Linked DNA regions of Homo sapiens: regions 2 and 3 are each linked to region 1. Evidence: promoter capture Hi-C in 16 types of primary human blood cells and fetal thymus (Javierre and others, 2016). All regions are on one chromosome and are shown on one strand. The core of a region is centred on a gene start or on the middle of the fragment in contact, and the rest is flanking DNA. Distances in the headings are between cores, read along the strand shown.

Region 1 (3,586 bases), core at 608-3,107:
TTAATTTGTTTTGCCAAACAAACACAGTGAAAACTTTAGTCTGACTAATTGTACAGAAAATAGAATTTGTAACCAGTAGCAAACAAAACAGGATAAACCTAAGTCCCTGGCAAGCTGGATCTCCATCAGCAGGTCATCCAGATCCCCTTGTAAATGGCCTCCTGGGAAAATAAGTCCTAGGAGGCAGAGGCACAGATTTACCAGTCCCCATCAGAATCACAGGCTGCACCTGGGAAGGAAAAGCATGAAAAGGAGGAGAACTGATGTTACTTGAATCTCTTATCACTACACACATTAGAGTTGTCTGACTGCTGACCAACCTTAAGGTATGGTTTTCCCAAACCTATAGTCCCTGGACATCCCACCTGCATCCCTAGAGGGTAAGTTTCAAGTTCAGTGGTTCTGAAGCCTCTGCTTAACCAGAATCTGCAACAATAACTGGGGAGGAAGGGTAGACAAAGTCATAATTGCTGGTGTCACCAGGGCAGAGTCTAAGGCCCCAGCTTCCACTTCAGGAGGAAACAATTGAGGATGCCAGGTCACCAGCAAGAGAGTCCAGCTGCCTTAAGCCTCAGTACTGTCAACCAGTGCCCAGGAGTATAGAGGAGTTCAACAATGGCCTGCGGTCCCCTGGCTGGATGGGGTCTGGGAGTCCAGCAGGCTGCCGGGGCACCAGTTCACATTCCGTGCTTCTTGCGGATGACAGCCATGGCAAGCAGCCGATCCTTCTCACGCAGTTCTTCGCGCAGCTTGGCCTCAGTGAGACGCAGGTGGCGAATGCTGCCTTTCATCTCTTTCATCTTCACTTCCATCAGAGCCAGGATGTCCCGCTGCTCATTCAGCTTGCGCAGGAGCTCCTCCTCCGTGGTGCCTGACGACAAGGAGTACGAATGGTCGGAGCCAGTATCAGGGAAGCCCTCTTCCCCTACCACCACCAACTGGGGGCCCATAGGGCACTCGGCAGCCTCCAGCCCTGCGGTAGCAGCCTGTAACTCCGACGCGGCGGCCGCAGCGGCTGCGCCCTCTGCGGCTGCAAACTCCACTTGCACTGTGAGATCGATGGGCTTCACGTCTTCTCCAGTGGGAGTGATGGGCGCCGGCTGTACGGATCCCGGAGCCTGACTGCTGTCTACAGTGGCCTGAAGGGTGAGAAGCACGGCCGCGGAAGCAGATACCAGGTTCGGCTGCAGCTGGGCAGTCTGGGCAGTGGAGGCAGAGGGTGAGGACTGCTGCTGCTGCTGCTGCTGCTGCTGCTGTTGCTGCTGCTGCTGCTGTTGCTGCTGTTGCTGCTGCTGCTGCTGTTGCTGCTGCTGCCTGCGGCGGGCGGCCGCGGCCCCAGCGGGTCTGCGCGCTACTTTGCGCTCATTGACGCCGCGCAGCGGGAAGATGGTGGGGACGCGTACCGTGTAGGTCTTGCGGCCGCCCTGGAAGTGAACGCTGCAGAGACGGTGGCCTGTGGTGGGCTGGAAGGTGGAGAAGCACCCACTGACGCCGGCACGCGACACGTTCTTGAGCCAGAGGCGCCGCAACTCAGCGTCCTTTGGAAACGTGTAGAAGTGCAGCGCCTTGTCCCGGTGCGAGTTGTTGTAGCAGCCTGGCACGCAGCACGTAAAGCCAGGCATGGCTGCGCCGCGCGGCCCGGCCCGGCCCACCGGCCTCCTGCGCTCTTCGACGGCCCAGTGGCTACGCCGCCGCCCGCCCCTCGACGGGCGGCGCCGCGCGAGGCCTTGGGTGGTATCCCACCACTGCCGCTCGGCGCAGCCGGCCCGCCCGGCGCCCCGTGCCCAGAATACGCTTCCTGCCGGCCCGCGCCGCGCCGCCCGCCTGGCTGCCCGCCTGCGCTCGGGAGTGGGCCCCGGGGACGCCGCGAAGGACCGCCTGAGAAAGAGACTACGCCCCCCACAATGCCCCGCGCCAGAAGCGGCTCACTTCCGGGGCGGGTGTGTGCGGATTCCTGCCGCCTTCCAAGGCACTGCGATAGCCTCCGAAGAGCAGATTCTTTCCCCAGCCCGTCTTGTCCCCGGCGGGCGAGAGAGGCGTATTAGGTTGGAACGCTGTCGCCTGGACTGCTCCTCACGAGGACCCGAATCCTGATAGGGGCGTGGAGCGGGGCGGTGCGCGCCTCACCGGTGCGCAAGCGCGGTGGGTATATGCCCACGGAGACTACAAATCCCGTGATGCCTCGCGCTGAACTAGGCGCCTTCCCTCCGAAGCGCCGCCTAAGGGAAAGATCGAGTTACTGCGGACCAGGATTCGGGCGAGGTTGTGCTGTTTGCCAGAACCAGTTCCCCAGCCCCGAGCCCCTTTGAGTCGACGGCATTGCTGCAGCAGAGGGAGACGAAACCTGGGCCTCGGCGCCCCGAAGGGTCTCAGGAGCCCCTTTCTTTGCGTTGGGGACTCTCTCCTGATTCAGCTGCTGCCTGCGTTGACTAACTGATCTAAACAAAGTCTCCAGTAGACGCCTACTATGTGGCTGACACGGTGCCGGGAGTTTGCGGGAGTCAGACCGACTGGGCTCCTCTCTTGGAGCCTGACTACCTAGACGGATAAGCGTCTGTCTTTTGGATAATAGATCTGAATGCACGCGAATGGATGTCTACTCACAAATAGTAATCGCTCCAAAGGAATTAACAGGAGAGCAGAGAAATGGGGGGGAGGTGGTGGGGGCCAGGAATAAAAAAACGAACGAAAGCTTGGGTAGGGAGAAGTAGCCAATTCTTGTCCCAGGAACCAGTCTGTAAGGCCACATGGCAGAAAAGAGCTAGGCTCCGCCATTAAAGAGCCTGGAAAGGGGTGGCCCGGGTAGGGCCAAGCGTAGGAAAATACCAAACTGGGACATGTTAAGGATTTGGGGTTTTATTCTGCAGGCCACTGAGAGCTATTAAAGGATTTTATGGGAAAGGATTTGCATTGTAACAATACACCTCCCCCCACCTCAACTTATTTGAGGGAATCTTTTTTTTTTTTTTTTTTTTTTTTTTTTGTAAAGGAGTCTCACTGTGTCGCCAGACTGGAGTGCAATGGTGAGATCTCGGCTCACCGCAACCTCCGCCTCCTGGGTTCAAGCAATTCTCCTGCCTCAGCCTCCGGAGTAGCTGGGACTACAGGCGCATGCCACCATGCCCGGCTAATATATATATATATATATATATATATATATATATATGTATTTTGTATTTAGTAGAGACGGGGTTTCGCCATGTTTCTCAGGCTGGTCTCGAACTCGTGAGCTCAGGCAATCTGCTCGCCTCGGCCTCCCAAAGTGCTAGGATTACAGGCGTGAGCTAGGATCACGGCGCCTGGCTGGGGGAAAATGTTTTAAAGAACACAAAATGTTGTGGAAAGCCAGGGAGGGGCCAGGCAGTTCTCCAGGTGAATTACCTGCAAACTAGCCCTCCTTTGCCGAGTTCTTCCTTCTCCCAATTTTTTTTAAACTTTTACTTTAGGTTCGGGGGTACGTGTGAAGGTTTACTACATAGGTGAACTCGTGTCACCGCGATTTGTTGTACAGATTATTTCATCACCCAGGTATTAAGCCCAGTACCCAATAGTTATCTTTTCTGTTCCTCTCCCTCCTCCCGCCCCC
Region 2 (3,586 bases), core at 688-3,187, 370 kb before region 1:
ACCACTGGTCAGTTTTGCAGTACTGGCTAAAGCATTCAGATGCCCCAAGAGTCAAAAACACAATAACGAAATAGTGAGACTCCGACTCAAACAACAACAACAACAACAACTCTCATCTTTTTGCCTATAAGGAATTATTCTTGGCCTCTGTTGTACAACTTCAAGTAAAAGGACCTAACCTACTTAGAAGGGAAAAATCTGCATGTAGTCTCTATGAACACTAACTAATACCTTCCTTTTAAGCAGATAAAAAAAGAAAAACAAAGGAAGAGTCAATCTGTACAAAATGCACCCTCACTATAGGGGTCAAAACAAAACAAAATCCAGAAATCCTTTGGTTAAGCAAAATTTTTCTGACTTAAGCTTGTTTATTATTTGAGATCACTCACCTAGTTTTCAGAGGTGATTTAAAGATTACAGTGTGTGCAAAGTATTTTAAATACTGAAAATATCAAAATACTCTTTCTGGGGGTTCCCAATCTCCACAACTGAATCCTCCAAAACAGACTTGAAGGTATAGAACATGTGATTACAGGTACAGCAGCATAAAAATCATAAGAAAGCATCCCAGGAACAAAGCAAGAGGCCAACACACACTATGGGAGCTTTTGTGAGTGGATGAATTCAGTGGTACTTTCAGATTGTGCTTTACAGAAACTTGCAGTGCTCCAGAAATCCTTCTAGTTCCTTGAAGCACTTTCGTGAGCTCCAAAATATACCTCATTCATCTCTCCTGATCACAAGAACTTTGACCAAACATTTACAAAAGTGTGCCGGGCACGGTGCCTCATGCCTGTAATCCCAGCACTTTGGGAGGCCAAGGCGGGTAGATCACCTGAGGTCAGGAGTTCGAGACCAGCCTGGCCAGCATGGTGAAACCCCGTCTCTACTAAAAACACAAAAATTAGCTGGGCGTGTGGTAGATGCCTGTAATCCCAGCTACTCAGGAAGCTGAGGCAGGAGAATTGCTTGAACCTGGGAGGCGGAAGTTGCAGTGAGCTGAGATCATGCCATTGCACTCCAGACTGGGCAACAGGGTGAGACTCCGACTCAAACAACAACAACAACAACAACAACAACAAAAAACATTTACAGAAGAAGAGTTTCAGCCGGGCACAGTGGCTCACGCCTGTAATCCCAGCACTTTGGGAGGCCGAGGCGGGAGGATCACAAGGTCAGGAGATAGAAACCATCCTGGCCAACATGGTGAAACCCCGTCTCTACTAAAAATACAAAAATTAGCTGGGCATAGTGGTGAGTGCCTGTAATCCCAGCTACTCGAGAGGCTGAGGCAGGAGAATGGCGTGAACCCGGGAGGTGGAGGTTGCAGTGAGCTGAGATCGCGCCACTGCACTCCAGCCTGGCGACAGAGCGAGACTCCATCTCAAAACAAAACAAAGAAAAAAGAGTTTCGATTCTTTTGAAACTCTTAAAAAGATTAAAGAAAAGGAAACACTTCCTAACTCATTATGAGGCCAGAATTTACTCTGACACAAAGCCAGAAAAAGATACTATAAGAAAAGAAAAGGCTAGGCACAGTGGCTTACACCTGGGAGGCTAAGGTGGGTGGATCACGAGGTCAGGAGTTCGAGACCAGCCTGGCCAATATGGTGAAACCCCATCTCTACTAAAAATACAAAAAAATTAGCCGGGCATGGTGGTGCGCACTTGTAGTCCCAGCTACTCGGGAGGCTGAAGCAGAAGAATCGCTTGAACTGGGGAGGCAGAGGTTGCAGTGAGCCGAGGTCACACCACTGCATTCCTGCCTGAGCGACAGAGCAAGACTCCATCTCAAACAAACAAAAAAACAAAAAAACTACAGAATATTCTTTATGAATATAGATGCAAAAATCAACAAAACACTAACACAATTCAGCAGCATATTAAAAGGATGATACATTAAGACCAAGTGAGTTTTATTCCCAGAATGCAAGGATGATTCAACAAATGAAAATCAATTAAAGTAATATGCCAAATTAGTTGAACAAAAGAAAAAAAAACATACTCCTGACTGGCATGGGCAACATGGCAAGACCCTACCTCTACAAAAATTAATTTAAAAACCACATGATCATCTCGATAGATGCAGAAAAGTGTTTGTAAAAATTCTTTTATTTTTTTTGAGACAAGGTGTCACTCTGTCACCAAGGCTGGTGTGCAGTGGCACAATAATGGCTCACTGCAGCCTCTACCTCCCAGGCTCAAGCAATCCTCCCACTTCAGCTTCCCAAGTATTTGGGACCACAGCACCTGGCTAATTTTTTGTATTCTTTTTTTTTTTCTTTTTTTTTTTTTGAGAAGGAATCTCACTCTGTCGCCCAGGCTGGAGCGCAGTGGCATGATCTTGGCTCACTGCAAGCTCCGCCTTCCGGGTTCACGCCATTCTCCTGCCTCAGCCTCCCGAGTAGCTGGGACTACAGGTGCCCGCCACCATGCCCAGCTAATTTTTTTGTATTTTCAGTAGAGATGGAGTTTCACTGTGTTAGCCAGGATGGTCTCAATGTCCCGACCTCGTGATCCGCCCACCTCGGCCTCCCAAAGTGCTGGGATTACAGGCGCGAGCCACTGCACCTGGCCATTTTTTGTATTTTTAGCAGAGATGGGATTTCATGTTGCCCAGGCTGGTCTTGAACTCTTGGGCTCGAGCAATCTGCCCACCTCGGCCTCCCAAAGTGCTAGGACTACAGGATTGAGCCAACATGCCCAGAGTGAGTGTGACTGTGAGTGTGTGTGTGTGTGTGTCTGTGTGTGTGTTGGGGGGCAGGGGGGTTAGCCAGAGTTTTATTCGTTCATTTCTTGCATTTGAAGTACTTCAACTACTACACAACTGCAACGAACCACTTTACGGGGTTTCCCCTCTCTGTCAATTTTACAGAGACCTAACCATTCCCCCTAGCTTCTTGTCATCAACCTTAAGTAGGTTGATTTGGTGTTCAGCACAAAGAACCTCTATGAACTTGACATAGGCTCATCACAGTTGGATGCAAACACACAAAAGATGGGCCTGACCCTTCAGCAGCTTTGCAAATTCCACGTGCTAGGCCATCATGGGTGAGGACAGTCTTCAACACCTCTTGTAAAGCAGTATTAACAGCCACCACACCTCCAGCAGCAACACCTTCCGTGGCCATGGTGGTGGTCTACGGGTGAAGCTGAATCTTGAATGCACCCAAGCCTCTGCCTCCACTCAACTCAGCAGTGGCAGGGAAAGAACTCTTTTTCTTTGAGACGGTCTCACTCTGTTGCCCAGGCTGGAGTGCAGTAGCATCCCAATCACGGCTCACTGCAGCCTCCACCTCCTGGGTTCTAGCTATCTGCCCGCCTCAGCCTCCCAAAGTGCTGGTATCACAGGCGTGAGCCACCGTGCCCAACTCATTTATCAAAATTCAATGCTCTTTCAAGATGAAAACATTCAATAAACAAAGAATAGAAGGAATTTCCTCAATATGAAAAAGGCCATATATGAAAAACTGTTAGTTCCTATCATTATCAACAAAGAACAAAAGCTTTCCCCCTAAGATCACAAACAAAGCAAAGATGCCCACTCTTTCACCACTTCTACTAGCCTACCACTAGAAGTTCTAGC
Region 3 (3,586 bases), core at 377-2,876, 280 kb after region 1:
GAGGACTGCTCGAGCCTAGGAGTTCAAAGCCAGTCAGGGCAACATGGCAAAACCCCGTCTCTACAAAATACATAAAAATTAGCCAGGCAGGCCGGGCACAGTGGCTAACGCCTGTAATCCCAGCACTTTAGGAGGCCCAGGCGGGTGGATCATGAGGTTAGAGTTCGAGACCACCCTGGCCAACGTGGTGAAACCCAGTCTCTACTAAAAATACAAAAACTAGCTGGGCATGGTGGTATGCACCTGTAATCCCAGCTTCTCAGGAGGCTGAGGCAGGAGAACTGGTTGAACCCGGGAGACGGAGGTTGCAGTGGGCCACCATCGCACCACTGCACTCCAGCCTGGGTGACAGAGGAAGACTTCGTCTCAGGGAAGAAGAACAACAACAAAAAAAAGGCCAGGCATGGTGGCTCACGTCTGTAGTCCCAGCACTTTGGGAGGTCGAGGTGGGTGGATAACCTGAGGTCATGAGTTCCAGACCAGCCTGGCCAACATGGTGAAACCCCGTCTCTACTAAAAATACAAAAATTAGCTCGGCACGGTGGCAGGCACCTGTAATCCCAACTACTCCCGAGGCTGAAGCAGGAGAATCACTTGAACCTGGGAGGCCGGGGTTGCAGTGAGCCCAGAACATGCCACTGCACTCCAGCCTGGGAGACAGAGTGAACTCCATCTTAAAAAATATATATATATACACGTATACATATATATGCCAGGCATGGTGTTGTGTGCCTGTGGTCCCAGCTACTTGGAAGGCTGAGGTGGGAGGATCGCTTGGGGCAGGTGGGGGACAAGGCTGCAGTGAGCCATGATCACACCACTGCACTGCAGTGTGGGCAACACAGTGACAACCTGTCTCAAAAAAAAAAAAAAAAAAAAAAAAAGCCGAGTATGGTGGCTCACACCTGTAACGTCAACACTTTGGGAGGCCGAGGTGGGAGACTTGCTTGAGCCCAGGAGTTCAAGACCAGCCTGAGCAACATAGTAGGATCCTGTCTCTACAAAAAAATAAAAGAATCAGCTGGGCATGGTGGCACACGCCTATAGTACCAGCTACTTGGGAGGCTGCAGCAGGAAGACTGCTTGAGCCCAGGAGTTCAAGGCTGCAGTGAGCTATGATCATGCCACTGCACTCCTATCTGGGCAACAGCTATGATCATGCCACTGCCTCAATCAAAATGTATTAAAAAAAAAAAGTTTCCAAGCAATTTGGCACATGAGGTACATCTTCTAAGAGGAAATCCATCTCACAATTAGCTAAACTCCACAAAACTCACTAATACTTAGATGAAGCTAAAGTCTCCTCTGTTGAGAGGCAATTTTTAGTAACACAAATAGGTGATTAGCATATTTAGTCCAACCAACACTTCCATACTGGAGTCCATTATTATTACCAGCATACCTCAAAGGGAATGAAATTTTCTACCCCTGAAAATTCCAAGAGTGACCAAAAACAAGGATCAAGTGTGAAAGAATACCATCCTAACCCTCACCTTTGGACTGTATTTTGGCAGTCTATATGCAATGCCACAACTTTGCATTCAAATATTAAATCACTGAGAAAATGCACAAAGATACTAGCAGGAAAGATACGAAGACAGACTACAGAAAGTTTACAGGTGTTTAAAAAAAATGGGCTGGACACGGTGGCTCACACCTAATCCCAGCACTTTGGGAGGCCAAGGCAGACAGACTGCTTGAGGCCACGAGTTTGAGACCAGCCTAGGCAACATGACAAAACCCCATACCTAGAAAAAATTAGTCCCAGCTACCCAGGAGGCTGAGGTGGCAGGATCATTTGAGCCAGGGAGGTGGAGGCTGCAGTGAGCTGTGATCACACCACTGCACTCCAGCCTGGGTAAAAGAGAAAGACCCTGTCTTAAAACAAACAAACAAACCCCACAGGCCGGGCACGGTGGCTCACGCCTGTAATCCCAGCACTTTGAGAGGCGGAGGCGGGCAGGTCAGGAGATCGAAACCATCCTTGCTAACACGGTGAAACCCCGTCTCTACTAAAAATACAAAAAATTAGCCAGGCGTGGTGGCAGGCGCCTGTAGTCCTCCCAGCTACTCGGGAGGCTGAGGCAGGAGAATGGCGTGAACCTGGGAGGTAGAGCTTGCAGTGAGCCGAGATCGTGCCCCTGCACTCCAGCCTGGTAGACAAAGCGAGACTCCATCTCCAAAACAAACAAATACCCCACAAGAACAACAAAACAAATGTGGTAAGACTAATCTTTTTTTTTTTTTTTTTTTTTTTTTAATTTTGAGACAAAGTCTCACTCTGTCACCCAGGCTGGAGTGCAACGGCACGATCTTGACTCACTGCAACCTCCGCCTCCCGGGTTCAAGTGATTCTCCTGACTCAGCCTCCTGAGTAGCTGGGATTACAGAAACAGACATATGCCACCACGCTCAGCTAATTTTTGTGTTTTTGGTAAAGATGGGGTCTCACCATGTTGGCCAGGCTGGTCTCAAACTCCTGACCTCAGGTGATCCGCCCGCCTCAGCCTCCCAAAGTGCTGGGATTACAGGTGTGAGCCACCATGTCCCACCTACAAATCACATCAATTGAGAACCATGGTCTTCAAAGTTACACATTATTTGCCATTATTGTTCTTTTTAAATCATAATGCATCTGAGTTGTTTGAAGAGGGGCCTAATTTTTGGCAAAACAGTCAAGTCATCTGGAGCCAAGACAGGTAAATTAGGCAGACAGATGGTCTAGTTTAAAAAAATTAGGTGGAGTCTATAACGTAGATGATGTGGAATGGCTGTGACAGCAGCAGCATCCCTGAAGCAAAAAAAGCAGTCTCTAGAGGTGACTTTTGGCCAGGAGGCACCAGCCTGCAAGGCTCTGCCCAGGATTCCTCCCCAGGGCCTTAAGTCAGCCACAAGTGGCTTCCACCAAGGAACTCCCCAAGCCATTCAGAAGTCCCAGGTGAGTGCCCCCATTTGCGTGTGTACTTTAAAATAAAATCCTAAAGCTCTTAGAATTTGAATGCATCTTAAGGACAACTTCACCTCTTAAATTCTTACATAGGTTGAATGGATCCCGATAAAGTTAACCTTTACAACTACTCTTTTTTTTTTTTTTTTTTTTTGAGATAAGAGTCTTGCTCTGTTGCCCAGGCTGGAGTGCAGCAGCACAATCTCGGCTCACTGCAACCTCCACCTTCTAGGTTCGAGCGGTTCTCCTGTCTCAGCCTCCCTAGTAGCCAGGACTACGGCGTGTGCCACCATGCCTGGCTAATTTTTTGTATTTTTAGTAGAGACAGGGTTTCACTGTGTTAGTCAGGATGGTCTCAATCTCCTGACCTCGTGATTCTCCCGCCTTGGTCACCCAAAGTGCTGGGATTACAGGCGTGAGCCACCGCTCCCAGCCACAACTACTCTTAAATAGGCAGTATTTTCTTATGCAGGCAAACATTCCTGTTTTAATCATCCTCCTATCACTAATTTAAATAACAGGTCCTGGCCTGGCGAGATGGCTCACGCCTGTAATCCCAGCACTCTGGGAGGCTGAGGCGGGTGGATCACCTGAGGTCAGGAGTTCGAGACCAGCCTGGCCAACATCGTGAAAACCCGT

What was found. Contacts are between HindIII fragments. The CHiCAGO score rates a contact against its expected background, and 5 or more counts as called.
Region 2: a fragment that was not itself captured here is called in contact with the fragment with the promoter of THAP11 in region 1 in 2 of 17 cell types (naive CD4 T cells and total CD4 T cells); the score reaches 5.5 in naive CD4 T cells.
Region 3: a contact is called between a fragment that was not itself captured here and the fragment with the promoter of THAP11 in region 1, in 1 of 17 cell types (naive CD8 T cells). The highest score is 5.3, in naive CD8 T cells.

What each region holds. Positions count from the first base shown.
Region 1 is chr16:67,840,591-67,844,176 of GRCh38, reverse strand. THAP11 (THAP domain containing 11) reads right to left here and starts at 1,857. Exons shown (of 1, transcript NM_020457.3): 1 at 1-1,857. The coding sequence starts at 1,622. The coding sequence ends at 678. All of the region lies in intron 1 of CENPT (centromere protein T), which reads left to right. RefSeq lists enhancers at 534-583, 1,024-1,183, 895-1,641, 2,094-2,143 and a silencer at 1,664-1,843. The HindIII fragment of the contact is 11,152 bases long and covers 1-2,694 here.
Region 2 is chr16:68,209,007-68,212,592 of GRCh38, reverse strand. The region is part of intron 9 of NFATC3 (nuclear factor of activated T cells 3); the gene reads right to left. It also overlaps the pseudogene RPS12P27. Among named protein-coding and RNA genes, the nearest start is that of MIR6773, 23 kb to the left of the region's middle. RefSeq lists an enhancer at 1,380-1,449. The HindIII fragment of the contact is 3,143 bases long and covers 366-3,508 here.
Region 3 is chr16:67,565,189-67,568,774 of GRCh38, reverse strand. The region is part of intron 1 of CTCF (CCCTC-binding factor); the gene reads right to left. Among named protein-coding and RNA genes, the nearest start is that of CTCF, 4.5 kb to the right of the region's middle. The HindIII fragment of the contact is 4,800 bases long and covers 1-3,586 here.